7 separate regions of the Homo sapiens genome follow, and regions 1, 3, 4, 5, 6 and 7 are each linked to region 2. Evidence: promoter capture Hi-C in 16 types of primary human blood cells and fetal thymus (Javierre and others, 2016). All regions are on one chromosome and are shown on one strand. Each heading gives the region's core, a stretch centred on a gene start or on the middle of the fragment in contact. The rest is flanking DNA. Distances are from core to core; before and after follow the strand shown.

Evidence for each region. The method cuts DNA at HindIII sites, captures the fragments that hold promoters and counts their contacts. A CHiCAGO score of 5 or more calls a contact.
Region 1: a fragment that was not itself captured here is called in contact with the fragment with the promoter of FZD4 in region 2 in 16 of 17 cell types (erythroblasts, total CD8 T cells, endothelial precursors and 13 more); the score reaches 9.0 in erythroblasts.
Region 3: a contact is called between a fragment that was not itself captured here and the fragment with the promoter of FZD4 in region 2, in 1 of 17 cell types (total CD4 T cells). The highest score is 5.1, in total CD4 T cells.
Region 4: a contact is called between a fragment that was not itself captured here and the fragment with the promoter of FZD4 in region 2, in 1 of 17 cell types (total CD4 T cells). The highest score is 5.2, in total CD4 T cells.
Region 5: a contact is called between a fragment that was not itself captured here and the fragment with the promoter of FZD4 in region 2, in 2 of 17 cell types (naive CD4 T cells and non-activated CD4 T cells). The highest score is 5.9, in naive CD4 T cells.
Region 6: a contact is called between a fragment that was not itself captured here and the fragment with the promoter of FZD4 in region 2, in 9 of 17 cell types (naive CD4 T cells, naive CD8 T cells, total CD8 T cells and 6 more). The highest score is 7.3, in naive CD4 T cells.
Region 7: a fragment that was not itself captured here is called in contact with the fragment with the promoter of FZD4 in region 2 in 9 of 17 cell types (endothelial precursors, erythroblasts, megakaryocytes and 6 more); the score reaches 7.9 in endothelial precursors.

The regions. Positions count from the first base shown.
Region 1 is chr11:87,256,772-87,259,471 of GRCh38, reverse strand. All of the region lies in intron 6 of TMEM135 (transmembrane protein 135), which reads right to left. It also overlaps the pseudogene LOC101929104. Among named protein-coding and RNA genes, the nearest start is that of TMEM135, 220 kb to the right of the region's middle. The HindIII fragment of the contact is 3,243 bases long and covers 1-2,700 here.
Region 2 is chr11:86,954,120-86,956,980 of GRCh38, reverse strand. FZD4 (frizzled class receptor 4) reads left to right here and starts at 1,586. Exons shown (of 2, transcript NM_012193.4): 1 at 1,586-2,180. The coding sequence starts at 1,896. It overlaps FZD4-DT (FZD4 divergent transcript), which reads right to left and starts at 1,360. Exons shown (of 3, transcript NR_038905.1): 1 at 1,269-1,360. RefSeq lists silencers at 859-1,008, 1,359-1,728, 1,859-1,908. The HindIII fragment of the contact is 4,830 bases long and covers 1-2,861 here.
Region 3 is chr11:87,410,842-87,413,620 of GRCh38, reverse strand. All of the region lies in intron 2 of LOC107984361 (a long non-coding RNA gene), which reads right to left. Among named protein-coding and RNA genes, the nearest start is that of LINC02711, 310 kb to the left of the region's middle. The HindIII fragment of the contact is 1,178 bases long and covers 904-2,081 here.
Region 4 is chr11:87,436,132-87,438,835 of GRCh38, reverse strand. All of the region lies in intron 2 of LOC107984361 (a long non-coding RNA gene), which reads right to left. Among named protein-coding and RNA genes, the nearest start is that of LINC02711, 280 kb to the left of the region's middle. The HindIII fragment of the contact is 2,584 bases long and covers 106-2,689 here.
Region 5 is chr11:87,336,315-87,339,232 of GRCh38, reverse strand. No RefSeq gene overlaps it. Among named protein-coding and RNA genes, the nearest start is that of TMEM135, 300 kb to the right of the region's middle. The HindIII fragment of the contact is 1,342 bases long and covers 701-2,042 here.
Region 6 is chr11:87,314,430-87,317,129 of GRCh38, reverse strand. TMEM135 (transmembrane protein 135) reads right to left here. Exons shown (of 15, transcript NM_022918.4): 12 at 2,583-2,659. Among named protein-coding and RNA genes, the nearest start is that of TMEM135, 280 kb to the right of the region's middle. The HindIII fragment of the contact is 2,325 bases long and covers 216-2,540 here.
Region 7 is chr11:87,234,147-87,237,099 of GRCh38, reverse strand. TMEM135 (transmembrane protein 135) reads right to left here. Exons shown (of 15, transcript NM_022918.4): 6 at 416-462. Among named protein-coding and RNA genes, the nearest start is that of TMEM135, 200 kb to the right of the region's middle. The HindIII fragment of the contact is 598 bases long and covers 1,012-1,609 here.

The DNA.
Region 1 (2,700 bases), core at 51-2,550, 300 kb before region 2:
GGAAGAGGAAAAAAATGTAACATGATATATATATGTAGTGTGTGTGTGTATTCCCGCTCTACACGCGTACACACATACACATATACACACACACATAAAATTTCCTTCTGGGTGTTGTCATTCATTTCAAAAATTATCCATGGCAAGTACAGTGGTTTGGAAATATCTTTTCCCTATCCTTTTTTTCCACTTCTGGTGTCCCCTACAGCCATGGCCGCTGTCGCAGGGGAACCCCTATCCCCGGAGGAATTGCTCCCAAAAGGCGACGTGGAGAAGACTAAGGAGGAGTTGGAGGAGGACGACGAGGAGAAGCTAGATGAGACCTGGTCGGAGAGACTATGGGGCCTGATGGAGATGTTTCCGAAGAGGGTCCGGTCTGCGGCCAGAACCTCTTCTTTCTCTCCCTCTTTGTGGCTCACAAAATGTACAGGTTTCCCAGGGCAGCCGTGTGGATTGGGACCACTTCCTTTATGATCCTGGTTCTTCCCGTTGTCTTTGAGACTGAGAAGATGCAAACCGAGCAACAGCAGCAACTGCAGCAGCAGCAGATACTTCTAGGGCCTAACACAGGGCTCTCAGGAAGAATGCAAGGGGCTCTTCCTTCACTTCCTGGAAAGATCTAGATTGTTACTGCCGTATATGAGCTGTCTCCGTGGGAGAAGTCAGAAATTCAATTGTGTTTGAACTGCTGATTATTTGGATTTTTTTTTAACTTTGGCACATTGATCCATCTAAACCTGGTGGGAAGAAATCTCCCCACATTGTCTCATGAAGAGACTTAATTGCAACTGTGCCCTCCACACTATCCTGACTTACTTCAGTCTTCACTCTGATACCACAGTGCAGCCATGCAAATGGTTATTCCAGCTCTGGCCACACACTCTTTTCACAAAATTGCTCCTAACTGGAAGATCTCACTTTCTCCTGTGGGGTAGGAACTGACACCAGTGGGAGGGATGTGCCCCTGACCATTAATGACTGCTTTCTTTTTTTTCCTTAAAGAATGGAGCTGTTGGGGAGGGACATGCACACAATGTAAAACAGACAAAATGCATTACAACTGTGGTGTAATGTGGCCACTATGAATCCCTATGTATAAGAGGAAAGAGGCTGGCTGCAGCTTTAGCCACAGGATGGGGACTGGGGAAGACAGAGCAGGAGCTCATTTCCTCTGCACATTTTGGCTGTTAGATTTGTGTGTGTGTTTAAAAAAAGAGAAGCCAGTGCTCATTTTTTGTATTTAAATATTAAAAGTGATTCCAACTGAAAAAAAAAAAGGCTTTTCCCCAAAATAAACACAGAATACAGTAAAATAATTATTGTGTAAAATATAATCAATATCAATATATAATCAAATATATATAATATATGCAGAAAATATAATCAAGTTATTAACTGATTATATTTCTAAAGACTATAAATGTAATTTCTATTCATACTAAATTGGAATGTATTCTTAGAAAGGGACTTAGACGTACATATGGTATAGGAAGTACGTGCTTGTGGTCAGTTTGTATCTGGCAATCTGTGACTTAATTTTGATCAAGAATGTGCCAGATTTATATTTAAAAATACATTCACAGTTTTATTGAGATACCATTGAAATATTATACAATTCACTATCTAAACTGTATCAGTCAGTGGTTTCTGGTATATTCAGACTTGTGCAGCCATCACCACAATTACTTTTAGAACATTTTCATCAACCCTAAAAAAAACCCTTACCCATTAATAGTCATTCCCTACACTCCCAACTCCCCTAGGCCACCAATCTAATTTTTATCTCTACAGATTTTTCTATTCTGGACATTTTTGATAAATAGAATCATATAAATATGACGTTTACAGCTTAGATTTAAATAATAAAAACAACTAACATTTATTGAGTGCTTACTATGCAGTAGATATTCAATACAATAACCCCATGAGGTAAGTACTATTATTATCCCCACTGAAGACGAGAAATGTGAGGCACAAAGAGGCTACATAACTTACCCAAAGTCACAAAACAAGTAAGATGGAGAAGGATTTGAACCAACACAGCTGAACCCCAGAGTTCCCTCTCAACTACACTATAGTGTCTTTTGATTACCTCCGACACAGAACTTAAACAAAAGAAAATAACAGAAAGAAAGAATCAGGCTTGAGAAAGACACAGTGAGTTATAGCATAGCCCAATGAGTTATAGCACCTCACAAGCAGTAAAGCAAACAGTTAAATTTAACTGCTTCAAATTTGAGCATCTGTATCAGTAAAGTCTCATCTAAGAACTTTCTGTGATTAGTAATAATGCTCCTTAAACAAGAAGCAGACAGCATGCAAAAGAGGATTCCAGAACTCGAAAGGATATAATGTTTGGATGTTTAGTCACACTCAACATTGCTAAGAGTTATCACCAGTTTCTTAGTGAAGAACTGAAGATTAGTATAAGAATCCATTTCTAGGGTTTATATGGAAATACAAAGGCATATAATCATATAGCCTACATAATATAATCTCATTTGAGAAGCTGAAAGACATATATACACATATACACATACACATACACACACACAAATGTGTGGAAGGAGAGAGGAAAGAAGTGAAGGCAGGAGGAAAGAAAGGGGCAAAGGAGGGAGGAAAAGAGGAAGAGTGAGGGCAAGCAGGACCAACAGACAGATAGAGGCATAGCCAACAGACTAAAAGTATACAAACAAAGCT
Region 2 (2,861 bases), core at 337-2,836:
TATGCCACAGAATTGGCTGAAATGGGAGGATAAAAACATGCATAAAACAGTGGCAAGTGTTGGACAAAAAGATCTCAGGAAGAGGGTGAAAAGCCTTTTACCCAGATCCTCATTCCGGGGCTGCTGGAGCTGTCTTTAGCACCAGGCTGGAAAGCAGGAGGCTGTCCCATAATTGATCTCCCCTAGCTGTTTTGGAAACACATACACACACACACACACACACACACACACACACACACACCCCAATCACCAAGTTCTTCAGCATTTATTATGTGTCAGACACTGCTAAATGATTTACAGGTATTATCTCACTGAACTCTTAGAACAACTGTGTGAGGTGGATATGAACTTCCCCACTTTACAGCCGGCCACTTTGAGGCTCAGAGAGGCACCATAGCTTCAACACAGTCAAGCAACAAGTAAACGGTGGAGGAATCCACCTGCTGGGAGTTTACTGGCCGACTGGAAAGCAGAGAGAGGGTGGACCAGCACAAAGCCGCGGGGGGCTGGTAATGAGACAGGAAAGTTGGGTTCAAACCTGGGTCACATGATCCCCAGATCCCTAGGAGCCGAAGCAGAAGCAAAGAAAAAAAGGGGTGCAGCCTGGTGGGGAGGGGGTGCCCGGGAGGCCGGGAGAGAGGAGTCACGGTGGTTGTGCGCCTTCCTCGTCCCCAGTGCACAGGTCAAGCCTCTCCCCTCCCGCCCTCTCACCCTCCCAACCTTATTTAGAAACCGTGTCCCCGAGACAGGAAGGGCGGCGGGCCGAGAAGCACGGAGAGTCCCGGTCTCATTTCCTTTCGAATCCCCCTGTGGAATTTCATTTCATACGGTGAGGAAATCAGAGCGCGAGACCGTCGGCGGGTCTGCAGCTCCGCAGCTCTGGGGCGCCTCCCCGCTGGCGGCTGGAGGTGGGCGGCTCCCTGCGCAGGTCGGGCGAGTCTGGGGGCGGGGAGAGGCCGGGCCCCGATCGCCGCTGGTCCGGAGTGAAAATAGCTGTGGACTCACGCAGTACCAGGCACCATGCTAAGCCTTCTACACTTTATCTCTAATCCTCCCAAGTGACTTTACAGAGGAGACTGACGCCGAGGGGTTGAGCAATTTGCTCAAGGTCACACAACCGGGACTGAAAGCCACAATCGGTGTAAATCCAAATCCCCAATTCTTTGTGTACGTTTCTCTGCCTGACGGGGAGGTGGCCACCGGCCTAGGTTACAGCTGAAAGGAGACAGGAAGGAAAGGGGGCAGATGGAACAGGGCGCACTTCTCACCTGCAGAAGGGGGCAGGACGGCGTGGCTGGAGCCACTGGGCTGCGTCCCTGCTTGGCCCCTGCGCGCCTAGATCCGGGTGGGAGGAAAGCAAGAGCCGGGAGGCGGGCGGGGCGGGGCGCTAGGGGAGGGAGGGAGGGAGGGGCGGCCGGAGGAGGGGGCCGGAGGGCGGGGGCCTGACTCCTCCTGCGGGAGAGCGGCCCCGCCCCGCCGCCTCGCCCCTAGCTGCCCACCGCGCCCGGCCATTGGAGAGGCCCGCTGTCCGTCCCGCCCCGCCGCCGCGCCGCGAGCCTCCAGCGCCGCGCAGGGCTCCGGCGGTGAGAGCTGCGCAGCGCTGGCTGCTGGCTGGCCTCGCGGAGACGCCGAACGGACGCGGCCGGCGCCGGCTTGTGGGCTCGCCGCCTGCAGCCATGACCCTCGCAGCCTGTCCCTCGGCCTCGGCCCGGGACGTCTAAAATCCCACACAGTCGCGCGCAGCTGCTGGAGAGCCGGCCGCTGCCCCCTCGTCGCCGCATCACACTCCCGTCCCGGGAGCTGGGAGCAGCGCGGGCAGCCGGCGCCCCCGTGCAAACTGGGGGTGTCTGCCAGAGCAGCCCCAGCCGCTGCCGCTGCTACCCCCGATGCTGGCCATGGCCTGGCGGGGCGCAGGGCCGAGCGTCCCGGGGGCGCCCGGGGGCGTCGGTCTCAGTCTGGGGTTGCTCCTGCAGTTGCTGCTGCTCCTGGGGCCGGCGCGGGGCTTCGGGGACGAGGAAGAGCGGCGCTGCGACCCCATCCGCATCTCCATGTGCCAGAACCTCGGCTACAACGTGACCAAGATGCCCAACCTGGTTGGGCACGAGCTGCAGACGGACGCCGAGCTGCAGCTGACAACTTTCACACCGCTCATCCAGTACGGCTGCTCCAGCCAGCTGCAGGTGGGCGCCCCCACCCCCACCCCTGGCGGGACCCCTTGGGGAGGGACGCTCCAAACTAACTTTGCAGAGCCCATGCCAAGTTGATCATCCTAGCCCGAAGGAGACAGCTCTCCTGGAAAAGTGATTTCCATCCCCACCCCCACTTTCTCAGGGACTGGAAGCCAAAACGTTGTGTAAGTCATCTGGCCTGGGAAAGAACCCACTCTTACACCCCGCCCTTCCGTTTTTCTCTCTTGCCCACCCATGTCTGGCCCAGACCCCTAACCCCAGTGGAGCTGAGGGTTATCTCTGCCAAGGATTCTGGCCGCCACTGCTCGGTGGGCGAGTGGGAGGGAGCCAGCTGCAGCTAAGACTTGGAGGGAGTGATAAGGAGACCATCCTTCACCGAACTTCCTTCTCCCCACTATTTTTGGGGTGTTATTAAATGAAACACTACTGCACCTTTTTCTGCTGAATAGCCCCTTCTCACGACGTCCCGCAGCGTTTTAGAGGTCATGCATGAAGGAGTGGTTGGGTTGGCTTGAGTTCTTTCTTATCCTCACAGTTGAAGGCACGTTTAATGCTTGGAGGGTGAGAAGAAGCTGCAGGAAGGTGGTTGGTATATTGGAAGAAATTTTTTTGCAGTCATTAAAAAATGTAAAGCATATCTAATGATAGAGAAAATGTTTATTCCACAGTAAT
Region 3 (2,779 bases), core at 243-2,742, 460 kb before region 2:
TTTGTTCATTGATTTTGTATGCTGAGACTTTACTGAAGTTATTTATTAGCTGAAGGAGCTTTTAGGCCAAAACTATAGGGTTTTCTAGATACAGAATTATGTTGCCTGCAAATAGAAATACTTTTATTTCCTCTCTTCCTATTTGGATGCACTTTATTTCTTTCTCTTGCCTGATTGCCCTGGCCAAAACTTTTAATACTAAGTTGAATAGGAGTGGTGGGAGAGGGCATCTTTGTCTTTTGCCAGTTTTCAAGGGGAATGCTTTCACCTTTTTCCCATTCAGTATAATATTGGCTGTGGGTTTGTCATAGATGCTCTTATTACTTTAGGTATGTTCCTTCAATACCTAGTTTATTGAGAGTTTTTAACATAAAGTGGTGATAAATTTTATCAAAAGACTTTTCTGCATCTATTGAAATTATCATGTGGTTTTTGTCTTTACTTCTGTTTATGTGTTGAATCACATTTATTGATTTGCATACGTTAACCAACCTTGCATCCCAAAGCCTACTTGAACATGGTAAATAAGCTTTTTAATATGCTGCTGGGTTTGGTCTGCTAGTATTTTGTTGAGAATTTTTGCATCTATGTTCATTGAGGATGTTGGCATGAAGTTCTTTGTTGTTGTTGTATCTCTGCCAGGTTTTGGTATCTGATGATTCTGGCCTCACAGAATGAGTTAGGGGTGACACCCTTCTCAATTTTTTGGAACAGTTTCAGCAGGAGTGGTACTAGCTCTTCCTTTTATATCTGGTAGAATTCAGCTGTGAATCCATCTGGTCCTGGGCTTGTTTTGGTTGGTAGGTTATTCATTACTGACTCAATTTCAGAGCTCGTTATTGGTCTGTTCAGGGATTCAATTTCTTCCTGGCTCAGTCTTGGGAGACTCTCTTCAGCCAAGCTTCTGTGTCTTCCCTCCATTCACTCCTGGCACATTCCCTCTGAAGATCTGTTAAAAGCACACCAGTCAACTTAGTCCCTCGGTGGTAGCTGTTTCACCTGGCTGCATCTGTTCAGCCATCTTGTCCTCTGACCCAGCTTTATTCTTTTTGCATAGGATTGCTTTGGATATTCAGGCTCTTTTTTGGTTCCATACAAATTTTAGAATTTTTTTTTTTTCCGTGAACAATGACATTGATATATTGATAAGGATTGAACTGAATTCGTAGATTGCTTTGGGTAGTATACCCATTTTATAAAAATCCTCCTTCCAAAATATTTATGGAGAATTCCTGGGAATACTTTATACTCTTATCTCAGTATCAGTGAAGATCACCACCCCGTTCTGCAGCCAGCACTAACCCAAGATCCTGACAGTTCAACAAAGGGTCTTTGACAGCACTGAATCTGTGTCCAGAATGCCATGACTGATATAAGACAATACCACTGCCCCTTAATGCCTGGAGGAAATAGCTCCTGCAATGTTATGATTAGCTGGCAGAGAGAGTTCCCAAAGCAAAATTGTTTGAACCCAAAGCATCATAATCATTAGTGACCTAATGCCTACCTTCTAGGATTCAAACAAGCCCACAGGGTGGTAGGAATAGGATAAATGCTGACATTAGCTACCTCCATCCACCCAGAACCAGCTCTTCTTTCCAGCATTGAGAAGTGTCCTGGAATCTGCTGTGTCCCTTCTTCTCTTAGGGCAGTAGTTCTCAACTGGGGAAACGTTTGCTCTCCAGGGTACATTTGGCCTTGTCTGGAGACATTTTTTGGTTCTCTCAACTAAGGACAGTGCTACCGGAATTTAGTGGGTAGAGGCCAGGGTTACTGCTAAACTCATAATGCACAAGACATCCTCCTGTATCAAAGAATTGTCTAGACCAAAATATCAATAATGCTAATGCTCAGAAATCCTATCACAGGACGATTTATTCCTCAGGAACCCTATTGTCTCTCCTGATTTGGCCTCTATGGAAACCATTCTTGTCTATAAAGCAAATTTCTTTATGTCTAAACACCAAGGTAGAGAGAACTTAAGTCTTAGTCCCAGTCCTTGACCCTTATGTAACACAGCAGATAAAAATAATCATGTATTAAGGACCTTTCCTAATTCTTTTATCTGAAGTTTCTAAGCTTTAGCCCCTGCTCATTTGAGCTATTACATGGAAAGTAACTCACAGCATATTCTTTCATTCAACAAATATTTAATGAGCACCTACTATGTAGTAGACATGGTACTAGACATTAGATACACAATGATTAACCAAACAGACTATTCCCCTGCCCTCATGGAGCTTACAGTATGAAAAAGAACAAACAGTAAACAAATAAATCTATAATTACAAATGCTAATGCATGCCATGAAGGAAAAGCATAGGGTACTATGAGGGTAAATAATGGAAAAGACAAATTTTAGGTAGGAAAGGCAGAGGGTGACCTCTGTATAGAAATAATCTCTGGGTTGAGGCCTGAAGGAGGCATAGAAGTTAGCTCAGTGAAGAGAGAGGGGAAGGAAGAAAATATGCAAAAAGCTCTTGTGTGAGAAACAGATTGGCGTCATCGAGTAGCAGAAAAAAGGGATGTGTGGCTGCATGTGATGTGATCTAATTTATTTTTGAAAAGATCATTCTGTCTGTCATGTGAATGATGGGTTGGAGGATCACAAGCAGAAGTGAGAGATCTATGAAAAGAAAAATTCCATGGCCCAGGAGGCAGATGGTGGTGACCTGGCCTGCAGGATAACAGTGGAGATAAGACCAGGTCTTTGAATGAGGTTCTGCCCTCTGAAACAGAAGTCTACATCCAGGGATGGCCACTGCCTGAGACACTTTGG
Region 4 (2,704 bases), core at 148-2,647, 480 kb before region 2:
TAAAACCCACAAAAAAGAAAAACAGTAGTGATATACTAGAGACTAAGAATCAGTATTGTATTATTTAAGGCAACACTGGAAGCCAAAAATCAATGCAACAAAGCTTTCCCAATTCTGAGGGTTTTAACCCAAAGTCATAACCAGACACGTTGTCATTTAAGTGTAAGTATGTGGAAAATGCATTTTCATATAGGCAACTTTTAAAAAAAAAAGGCTTTCCTTAAATTCCTTTTCTGGGAACCACCACATGTTATTCTCCACCAAAGTGAGGAAATACATCAAGAATTTTTTAAAATAGGGTCTAGAAAACAGGAGAGCTAACACAGGAAAGGGATAAAGGGAAGTCCCAAGATGACAGCTGTGCAGTGGGTCCTGGAGAGCCACCAGTCCAGACTGTATCAGAAAGACAATTCCAGAAAGAAGGTTTCCAGGAAAAATAAAAACAAAAACAGAAAAACAGACTGGTAGAATACCTGGTGAGTTTGACTATGAGGCAGATAAAAATACTAAAGTGGATTTTTTAATTAAGCCAAAGAAGATTTTTTTAAAACAAAATAGGAACATAAAAATGTAAGTAAAAGACAAAAAAAAAAAAACCCTGCAATTAACAATTCCAGAGGAATTGATCAAGTGTATTACTTGTCTCAGCATAAAAAAAAAAAAAAAAAAAAACACTCCATTGGAACAGCTCACACAGTTGCTTGAAAGATCCATGTCATTTCCCTTCTTAAAACACATCAGTGAATCCCCATGTCTTTCCAGGCACTCAGAGTTTTATGAACCTAAATAAATTCCATCACTTTTCAATGAGTAATCTAAATTCCAGAGAGGTGACCTGACTTGGCCAAGTGTTTTAATCAAGTGAGGCATAAGCCTGAAAGAACTCAGGTTTCTGTCTTCTAATTTACTTCCCCTTCCACTGCCAGCCCAGGTGACAGAAACACCATCTCCTGTTTTTATTTTTGAAATCACAATAGTATACAATTCCCCATTGGAACATACATTCAATTCCAAGAGCTATTTACTTATTCAGCTATCCCCTACCTGTTAAAAATAGAACACAGGATTATTTCTTTGATATTGTTCTTTCACAACCTACAAAGAGATAAGGACCTGGAATGAGCTACCATGAAACGCTCACTGACCCAGGGGAGGCTCTGGCCAAATGAGCTACCATGAAATGCTCACTGACCCAGGGGAGGCTCTGGCCAATCTCTGCCGTGTTGCAGCACCTATCCTCCCACAATCCTGGTAAAACAAGGCATGAAGCAATGGGCAGTTTTAAGATAGATAATGGGGACAAGTGGGACCATAACCTCAGTGCTCATGACTTAAGGCTGCTTCAATCCAGCTACTGTTGCAGTAGATCCAGGAACACTGCCTTTCTTTCTTGGCATCTATTCGAACATTCACCAAATCTCTATGGGTGTCTGCTCTGGTGAGGCAATGGGCCCGCCTTCAGTATACAGTGGTGAGAAAGATAGATAGCCCTTCACAAAGGCTAAGGTCAAGAATCTAGTGAAAGTTGACAGAGTTCACATGCAAATGTGGAGGGTATTGGGTCAGAACCCGCCTCATATACATCAACACATACCCCATATCACAACCACAGCCTGCCTGACAAACCTTAGCCCTAATATTTTGAATCATCCAAAACAGAATGGGCTGCTGCCTTGGGGGTATCAAGTTCCCTGTCATTGAAGGTTGATTGATCACAGGCAGAGGAGTCAAAATGCAAGTGTGACTTTAGATGGTAAGGCCTGCCCTTTCCCCATTTTCGATGCCTGATGAAATCCTACTCCTCCATCAGGAGCAGGTTCAAGTGTCCTGTCCTGACACTTCTCAGCAGTGTTCGACATCCACACTCTGGGTTGCTGTGGCTCTCTGATCTGTTCACTACTGTTTCCCTCGTGCTGTTTCTTGACAGGAGCTGGCCCATAATTTTTTGTTTACAAATCTATTTCTTCACTAGAGAGAGAGGATGGTTTTTTTCCTATCAGCAAATGCCTGGTGCATTGGAGGTGCTCAAGCTGTGTTTGGTGAAGGAATAAAGCCAACCTTATTCCTCTCTATTCTACAACTGGACCATCCTTGAATAGTCTGCTTCCACGCCCTCAAACACAGCAAGGTCGATCCCACCTCCTAATCTCGGCTTGTGCTGTTTCCTGCCTGGAATGCCCTCATCTCTCATTATCTCAACAAACATTTTTGAATGCCTACTGTGTGCCAGACATTGTGCCAAGGATTGGCAAAACACTTCCCTCCTCTCCTATAGCTTAGAGCAAAGGCATGTAAAAGAGCAGATAATTATAAATTGGCATAATGAGTAGTGATATGATAAGTAAGCACAGGGTGTTGTGGGATCCCAGAGATACCCCCAGCCCTAACTCACGAGGTTGAAAAAGCCTCACCAGAGGAGGTGGCATTGTTGCTGCACCCTGAAGGTGTAGTTAGGGTCAGCCAGGTCAAGGAAGTGAAAAGAGAGTCTTGGGTGCACGCCCTTCCTGTCACCCTTCCTACCTGTCCCACTTCAAGGCCCACCTTCTCCAGGAAGCCAACCCCAGCTTCCCCAGTAGTTTTGGCCCTCACTGAGCACTCTCCATTGTACTCCTACATCCACGTGCTCTATAACTGTGGTTCCAGTAAGGAATTGATACAGTTGGCTGTCTGAGAATTCTTCAAGAAAGCTTGCTAAAAAAAAGAA
Region 5 (2,918 bases), core at 122-2,621, 380 kb before region 2:
CATGAGAATTGCTTGAATTCGAGAGACAGAGGTTGCAGTGAGCTGAGATTGCACCACTGCACTCCAGCCTGGGCGACAGATCAAGACTCTGTCTCAAAAATTAAAAAAACAAATAAAAAACAAAAACAAAAAAACCCTGATATACTGTGTATAATTCCATTTACATAAGGTTCAAGAACTTGTCAATGTAATAATCTCTAGTGCTTGGGAATGCCCATTAAGGTAGACATGATTATTATAAAAAGAACAGTGGCTATCTCTGGGAGAGGTAAGCATTACGATTACAAGAGGGTACAAAATAGGCTTCTGAGGGTGCTGGCAACATTCTACTTGTTGATTTTGGTGTACGATATATGTATATTTCACAATAAAAGGTTTTAAAAACTATTAGCATGTTGCACATGTCACTGGCTCATTCTTCTCATTTCTGCAAAGTATTTTATTATATGGATATACAAAATTTGTTTATCCATTCACCTACCGAAAGACTTTTAGGTTCTTTCAACTTTTTGGCTATTACAAATAAAGCTGCTGTGAACATTCATATATAAGACTTTCATTTCTCTTGGGTAGCTATGGCTGTGATTGAAATGCCTGAGTCATATGCTACTGTATGTTTAGCTTTTCAGAGATGAACAAATTGTTTCAATTAGGTTGCTCTAATTCACATTCCCATTAGCAATATATGACAGTTCAAGCTTCTCCACATCCTTGCTAGCAGTTAGTATAGTTTTTGTAGTTAGTCATTTCAGTGAGTGTATAGTGGTGTCACATTGTGGTTCTAATTGACATTTAATCTGCAACTGGTTTTAATTTGCAATGATGTGGAGCACCTTTTAATGCACTTATCTGCCATCCACGTATCTTCTTATGTAAAATGTGTTCAAATCTTTTGCCCATTTAAAAAAAATCAGACTGTTTTTCGTATTATTGAGTTTTGAGCACACTGACTATGTTATCCCATTGCCTTCTGGCCTTTATTGTTTCTGCTAGGAAGTCAGCTGTTAATCTTGGAGGTTCCTTTGAAAGTGATAGATTATTTTTCTCTTCTTTCAAATTATCTCTTTGTCTTTTTCCACATTTTTCCTATAATATGTTTATCTATGGCTCTCTTTGTGTTTACCTAATTCGGAGATCATTGAGTTTCCTGGATGTGTAGGTTATTGTTTGTCAATAAATTTGGGAAGTTTTCAGCCATTATTTCTTCCAGTATTTTTTTACCTAACTCTTTCCCTCTTCTTCCCTCCCCTCCCCTCCTCCTGATAATCCTGATACTCACATTACATGTGTATCAGTGTACTTAATGGTATCTCGCCTTTCTCTGAGGTTCTGTTTACTTTCCTTCATTCTTTTTTCCTGTTCTTTGGAACGCATAATCTCTATTGACCAATCCTTAAGCTCAGAAATTCCTTCTGCTGCCAATTCAAATCTATTGTTGAGCACTTCTAATACATTTTTAAATTTTAGTTATTGTACTTTAAACTCCAGAATTTCCATTAAGAAATCTATCTTTATTGATATTCTCTATTTGATAAAACATTATCACTATACCTTCCTTTACCTTTTTTAGTCAAGCTGTCCTTCAGTTCTGTGAACATATTTATAATGGTTACTTTAAAATCATTTCCTATTAAAGCCAACATCTGGCCACTCTCATGGGCAGTTTCTGTTGCCTGGTTATTTTTATTTTACGTTTTTGGTTTTTTTTTTTTCATTGCATGGGTCACACTTTCCTGTTTCCTTGCATGACTCAAAAATTTTTTTGTTGGAAACTGAATATTTTAGATAATATATTGTAGGAACACTGGATAATGAATACCCCACTCTGAGCTTTGTTGTTGCTTGTCTGCTGGTCTAGTGACTGGTTGAATTATTTTAGTGAAGTCTATTTCTCCCCTACAGTGTCCAGCCTCTGATGTTGCTCTTCAGGATGGTACAGCTTTGGGTATGCCTACAGTCACTGGGGATGACAGTGGTACTGGTAGGGCTCCTTTCCATCTTTCCCTGACTTTGGAGCTGGAGAGTAAGGACAATGGCAAGCTTCTCTCCAAGTGATTCTCACATACTAGGAGCTGAGAATTCAGTGGGAATGGGGAGTAGCTGCAGTCTGGTCCTCTCAGCTTGCCTCTTCTGGCATGGACCTACCACCTTAATAAGGGCTCAATATTCTCTGCATGGGAGAAGGGTTATAAGGACCCAATATTTTCTGTTTGCTACACCTAAGGTAGAACCTCCATTCCAAGAGTAAGAGTTCGGTAGAAGAAAGGAGCTTCCACCTCTCAGTCACATTCACCTGGGATTTAACCTCAGCAACAGGCAAGAAGGGGCAGGATGAGAGTTGTTAAGTGCTATCTCTACTGGAAAAAAAAAAAAAAGCCTTTGATTGGGAACCAAGGAGGGAAAGAGCCTTGTGTTGTTGGCTGCAGTTATCTAGAGTGGAGTCACTACCTTGCTGAGCTGGGAGTGGGGAGGGTGGAAGAAGTCTTGGTTCAAATATCACAGAATCTCACCTTTCTTACTAAATTTTCTAAAAGAGATGTTTCTTCATTTGCTCTTTGTCCTGAGGACCATTTCCAGAGACTCTAAATGGCTGGAGATTTTAACAATGTTTTTCTCCTTCAAGCAGCAGAGACAGAAAAAATAATAACTTTCACTAGTTTCACCGGGGAATGTGTCAGCAGAACTCCTCATGCTGTTATGCCAGAAGTCAATCTTCCTATTGAGTTCCAACAGTTCTTTATATATTGCAGATAAAGCTCTTTACTGGACTGCGATTTGCAAATATTTTCTCCCAGTATGTAAGCTGTCTTTTCATTCTGTTAATCCTGTCTTTGGAAGAAACCAAAGTTTTATGTTTTGATGCACTCCAACTTATCAAAATTTTCTTTTATGGACTGTATTTTTGATGTCATATCTAA
Region 6 (2,700 bases), core at 129-2,628, 360 kb before region 2:
CCAGTACCTAGCACAGTAATGAGAACATAATATATACTAAATAAATACATGCATTTGACTCAGAGGTTCCTAGAAAACAATGGTCTATACAGTTGATTTTTATATCATTTTCACTGTACAGTAATAGAACATTTTAATATAAAATTAACTTCAATCACAGAAAAATGATTGTCTATTACCAGAGCAATGAATTCCACAAAAGGACATAGCAAGCTTAAATTTCTAATATCCTATTTAAAAAAAAAAAAAAGTCTGCATCACCATAGTTTATATGCCAGTTTCTTTTGCCAGGATCAGATATGGCCTGATGACACAAGAAACAGAGAGATACCATTCCTTGCCTTAAAAAACTCTGGCCACTTAGCTGTAAAATACCTTTAATAAACTAGATCTCAATATTGGTTTCCTCTTGTGTTAAAGAATATATTTTTGCCACCTAAGGATTATTTTCTTTCTCTCAGTTCCCTTTTCCTCTCCATTAGCAAGTCTTGCCAATTCTACTCTTAAACATACACCAAATCTGTATAGTTCTCTCCATCTCTACTGCTATCATCCTGGTGCAAGCCACCATTTCCTGACACAGACTAACTGTTCTCTCAGCTTTGATCCTGCCTCCCTCTAAAATAGTGGCCAAAATGTTCTTCTTAAAATGTGAATTAAATACTGTCATTTCCATGCTTAAAACTCTTCAGTGGTTTCCAGTGCACTGAGAAAAAAACAAATTCTTTACCCCAGCTTTTAAAATCCTACATGATGGTCTGGCTCCTGCCTGTCCTCCTGATTTCATGATGTATATATTCTCTCAATCTCTCTCTCTTTCTCTGTCTCTCTCTCTCTCTCTCTCACACACACACACACACACATATATTTGGGTAAAGCAAGTAATTAAGTTAAATAAAATCTACACTCTTAACTTTGAATTAGAAATATCACTATGTTCCAAATGTATTTTCTGTTTCTAAAAAGCAAGGGGAGGGAGATTCTCTAGCTCCATTCACTGCGAAAGCCAAGAATCAGTAACTAGCCTGGGAGCAAATAACCTCTAGCACCTGGATTGAAATCTTTAAATACCATTTCCCACTAAAACAAACTAGGAGCCATTACAGAGAAGACTGATTCTACATCTGAGGCAGAAAATGTCCCAGATGAGCCCGGAATATATTGTCTTACAGCAAGAAAGCTATCAAAGATAATGGTGTTATGTTACAACAAGGAGGAGTCAACTTAAGGAAGCTCTCATGGCCAAAGATGGGAACAATTTGAGCATAATGAAAATAAATCATATATGTTAAACTCCAAATCTTCATAATGATACTTTAAAAATAAAGACTCATGGGTCAACTTTGCAGGATGCTAAGGTACTAACTCATTCTAAACACTGGTAATTAAAAATGAACTAATCAAGCATTTTATTTTGACTTTCCAGAACAACGTATTTCAGAGTAACCAAATAGTTGAAAAGGAAAAATGCATTTAGAACAATTTCAGCTAATAAACACAGAATAAAGAGTAATAGTATTTTTCATCATTTTGCAACTCTTAATGAAATAATGAATCCCAGTGATAATTATTAACAGCTGCGAAAACCAATAGCTATAGGGCTACTGGGGAACCTTATGTTGGCTCTATCAACACCTAAGCCCACTGATCAATCTTAGCATCACAAAAAGAGAGAGAACCAGACATTTTTGTGCCTCGTCATGTGATGATGCAATTGGAAGTTCACATACACAGTAAATGTGAAGTATGGCTGTTACCTCCTACAAAAATTTAAACCTGAATTTGCTTAGGTCTCAAGATCTAGTTAACAACTAAAAAAATTTATGAGTTAAAGAAACATGTTAAACAACAACAGTGAGGGTGCAATCAGCAAAATCCAGAATTTGGGAAATTCCATGAACTAATGACCTACATCTTCAACAAATAAATGTCAAGGAAGAAGGAGGAGGAGGAGAAGGAAGAGGAGGAGGAGGAGGAGGAGGAAGAAAAGCAGTAGCAGCAGTAGTAGGGGGGTAACTATTATAAACTACAAGAAACTTTGTTTGGAACTTGATTAAAATAAAATGATTGCAAAAACATATTTATAAGATAATCAGTGAAGACATAAACTCTAATTGGATATATTAGTATGGAATTACTGGGAGGGTTTTAATGTATGATAATGATACTGTGGTATTGTTGATTTGTTTGTTTTGAAAAAGCCTTTAGCCTTTATTCTTTAAGGAGTCTTTATGCTGAAATTTTTTTAAGGATGAAATTATATAGTGTCTGGGATTGGCTTTAAAATAACTCGATACCTGTGGGGTTGAGGAGTATAGATGAAAGGAGACTGGCCAAATACTGATAACTGTTGAAGCTGCATGATGGGTGCATGAGGGTTAATTACACTACTCTTTCTATACTTAATGTATATTTGAAAATAACACACACACAAAGAAAAACACAGGGGAATCAACTTTGCAAATACTTTTAGAGGATTAAAATTTATGTTTGCCATTGGGATATACATTTGCTGCTAAAACAGTCAGCAGCTAAAAGCTTTATGTTCTTTGGAACTATTCTTGCACAAAAATTTCGCTTACCTCTACCAATTTGGACGCTAAATACATGGAAATTGTTGTGCTTTTATAAAACATCATTGATATACCTGCCAAAAATCCTGAAACAAGAAATAAGAAATAACTGATAAGATCGCAGAGT
Region 7 (2,953 bases), core at 61-2,560, 280 kb before region 2:
TTGCAGAAGGCTTAGATAGAGATCTACTGTCATTTTTTCTTATCCAAATGTAAAATGTTGATTGTTTTACAAGCAGAGTGAAAAACACTTAGGTATTTACATACAATCAGGTCCATAAAAGATAAAAATTCACTTATCAGGATTTGAGTCCTATTAATTGACATATTCAACTTTCTAGGATGAACTTATAAATAGAATGGGGGGTGGGGAGAATAAGTCTTCCTTCCCTCTCTTTCTCTTTTCTTAACTCACAAAGGAGCAATGATTTACCTCTGTCCACTCTGGGCGGGGGTGCGGGGGGAGTATGCTGCTTGTAAGGGATAATTATTTGGAGAATACTTTAGTTTCGTGGTTGATGAAATTACAAAGAGATACTGTTTGGGGTATTAAAGTAAATAAGTATAACAGAACATACCTGAAAAAGAACATGTACATGGCAGCTGTGATGCAAAACAAAAGGACCTGTAACAAAGAGAAAATATATTACTTGCAAAAGAACACTGACATCACCATTTGAGTGACTCATAAAAGCAAAATACTATTAAATCTTGTGCCTGAAACAATAAAAGGATATACAAACCAGTCACACACATTTCATATTCCTCAACCTTTCATATAAACGAAGCTTGTTCAACCTGCAGCCTGCAGGCTGCATGAGCCCCAAGACAGCTTTGAATGTGGTCCAACAAAATTTGTAAACTTTCTTTAAACATTGTGATTTTTTTGCAATTTTTTTTTAGTTCATCAACTATCATTAGTGTTAGTGTATTTCAAGTATGGCCCAAGACAATTTTTCTTCTTCCAATGTGGCCCAGAAAAGCTAAAAGATTGGACACCCCTAATATAGCCCATATTAGGAGAATAAATTGCAATACTTATATGTAACTATCATCATGTATATAATTATATATAATACATACATATATAGACGGGATAGAAGGGTAACAGGGTTCACAAAAAAGGGAACAGCTAATTTTTAACTGTCTGTTAGAAAGCCTAAACATGCAAGCTTAACTTAAAAACAAGGACAACAGCTTTTGTATAATCAGTTCAGTGAATAAATCAGAAAGGTTATTAACTATGATATGAAGATGACCAGATCTTCTAATGTAAAATATAGTCCAGTTGTCAACCAATTCTAATCAATAAGAAAAGCTCATAAAAATACAATATTCCTTTGTGGAATACAGACTAGCTATAAAAGTAATTCCTCTAGAAGCAGGCACAAGAACATCTGAAATGATGATCTCAAAAACATCACAGTAAACACAACATATTAAGATGGTATGTTGAAGGAACCCAGAACTCCAGTCCTGACTAACGTCTTAGTTATACCAAAAAAACAGATTAGAAAAGTTGTTTTAAATCACAAAAATTAAAATTGTAGAATGCATTCTTATGTTAAAAAACAACAGTACAAATTAAGCCTAAGAATCGTCAATGGCCTCACATCACAGACAAATAAGAAATGAACCTTCTTTCTATTGTGAAAGGGTGACCACAAGAACAGAAATGAAAACACTGCAAAAAATGTTTTGCTATTTCTAACACAAATAATTTCTAGTCAACCTGATGAAAGCATGGTAGTTTTGCCATTACAAATCAAGCTTGACAAGTTTGCTGTCTTAGCCTAAGATAAGCATTATACATACAGCCTGAATGACTTAGAAATATATAAATATACCAATGAAAAAGAGGATTGTTATCAATTAATATGAAGTAAATATTATATATATTTATGTAACATTTTATATCTATAAAATCTTTCTGTGCTAAACACACATACTCTCCTCCCCTCCCTCTTTCCCTCCTTCCTTCCTCTCTCCATCTCTCTTCTCCACTGACTTAAAACACCCTATCCATGATGCATAAGGTTCATTTTACCATTTCACTGTTTTTAGAAACATAACTTAAAGCATGTAAAATAACTTTCAGTTATTCTAATTGATTATAAATTGAAGTCTAAGTGGGTTTATTTACTGGTTATAATTTGCCTAACAAAACCCAGTCATGACACTCAATTTTTTTAAATTTCTCTATCATTCAATCCCCGTTGGACAATGTCATCCTTCCCAGATGTTCAATGCTTCAGACTTTTCCTGCACTAATCAGTGTCCCCCTTGCAGATCACACTAAAAACCTCTCTAGAAGTATCCCACAAATCTTTCACACACTCTTCATCTTCTCTAAATATCCAAAGTCTGCCTTCCCTCAAAATGTTGCCAGGTTCTATCCTAATATGCTAACCTATCTGTGTTCGTACTAAACTGATAATTATCTTTACAAATAATACACTTGAAACTGAGAAAAAGTACAATGTTTAAGAACTCAAGCTTTAGAGTAAGATAGATCTGGGTTTGAATCTTAGTTCTGGGTAACTCTAGATACTTTATATAATTTCCCTAAACCTTAGACCCCTTATCTATAAACTGAGAATAATATCATACTTCGAATTATTTAGAAGAATTAGTGAGATGATGCATATAAAAGTGGAGGCATCAGCAGATTGTTTTTATCTTGTTTTGTAACTGACATAAGTGATCTAGATAGAAAAACCTAACCCAGAGACATAAATCTGGAAAGAAATTATTTTTAATCAGGCAGCCCTTTTGAAATCTCTAATATCACCAATAATTAGGAGAATAAATCAAAAGGATATTACAGTGCAATTGACTGATTCATTAAACAAATATTTACTGAATTCCTACCACGTGCCAGGCACTGTTCTAAAACTTAGAACAATGCACAAAATGGACAAAAGTCTTTGCCCTCATGGAACTTATCTTCTAGCCAGGTGAGAGAATATATTTTTAAAAAGATGTATGTTAGACAGTAGTAGGAGTTTTGGAGATAAATAAAGTAGAATAAGAAAAAAGAAATACAGAAGACTGGGGATTGTTATTTTATACAAAGTGGTCAAAGAAGAAGAGACTTGTTAGCAGAGACACTATAA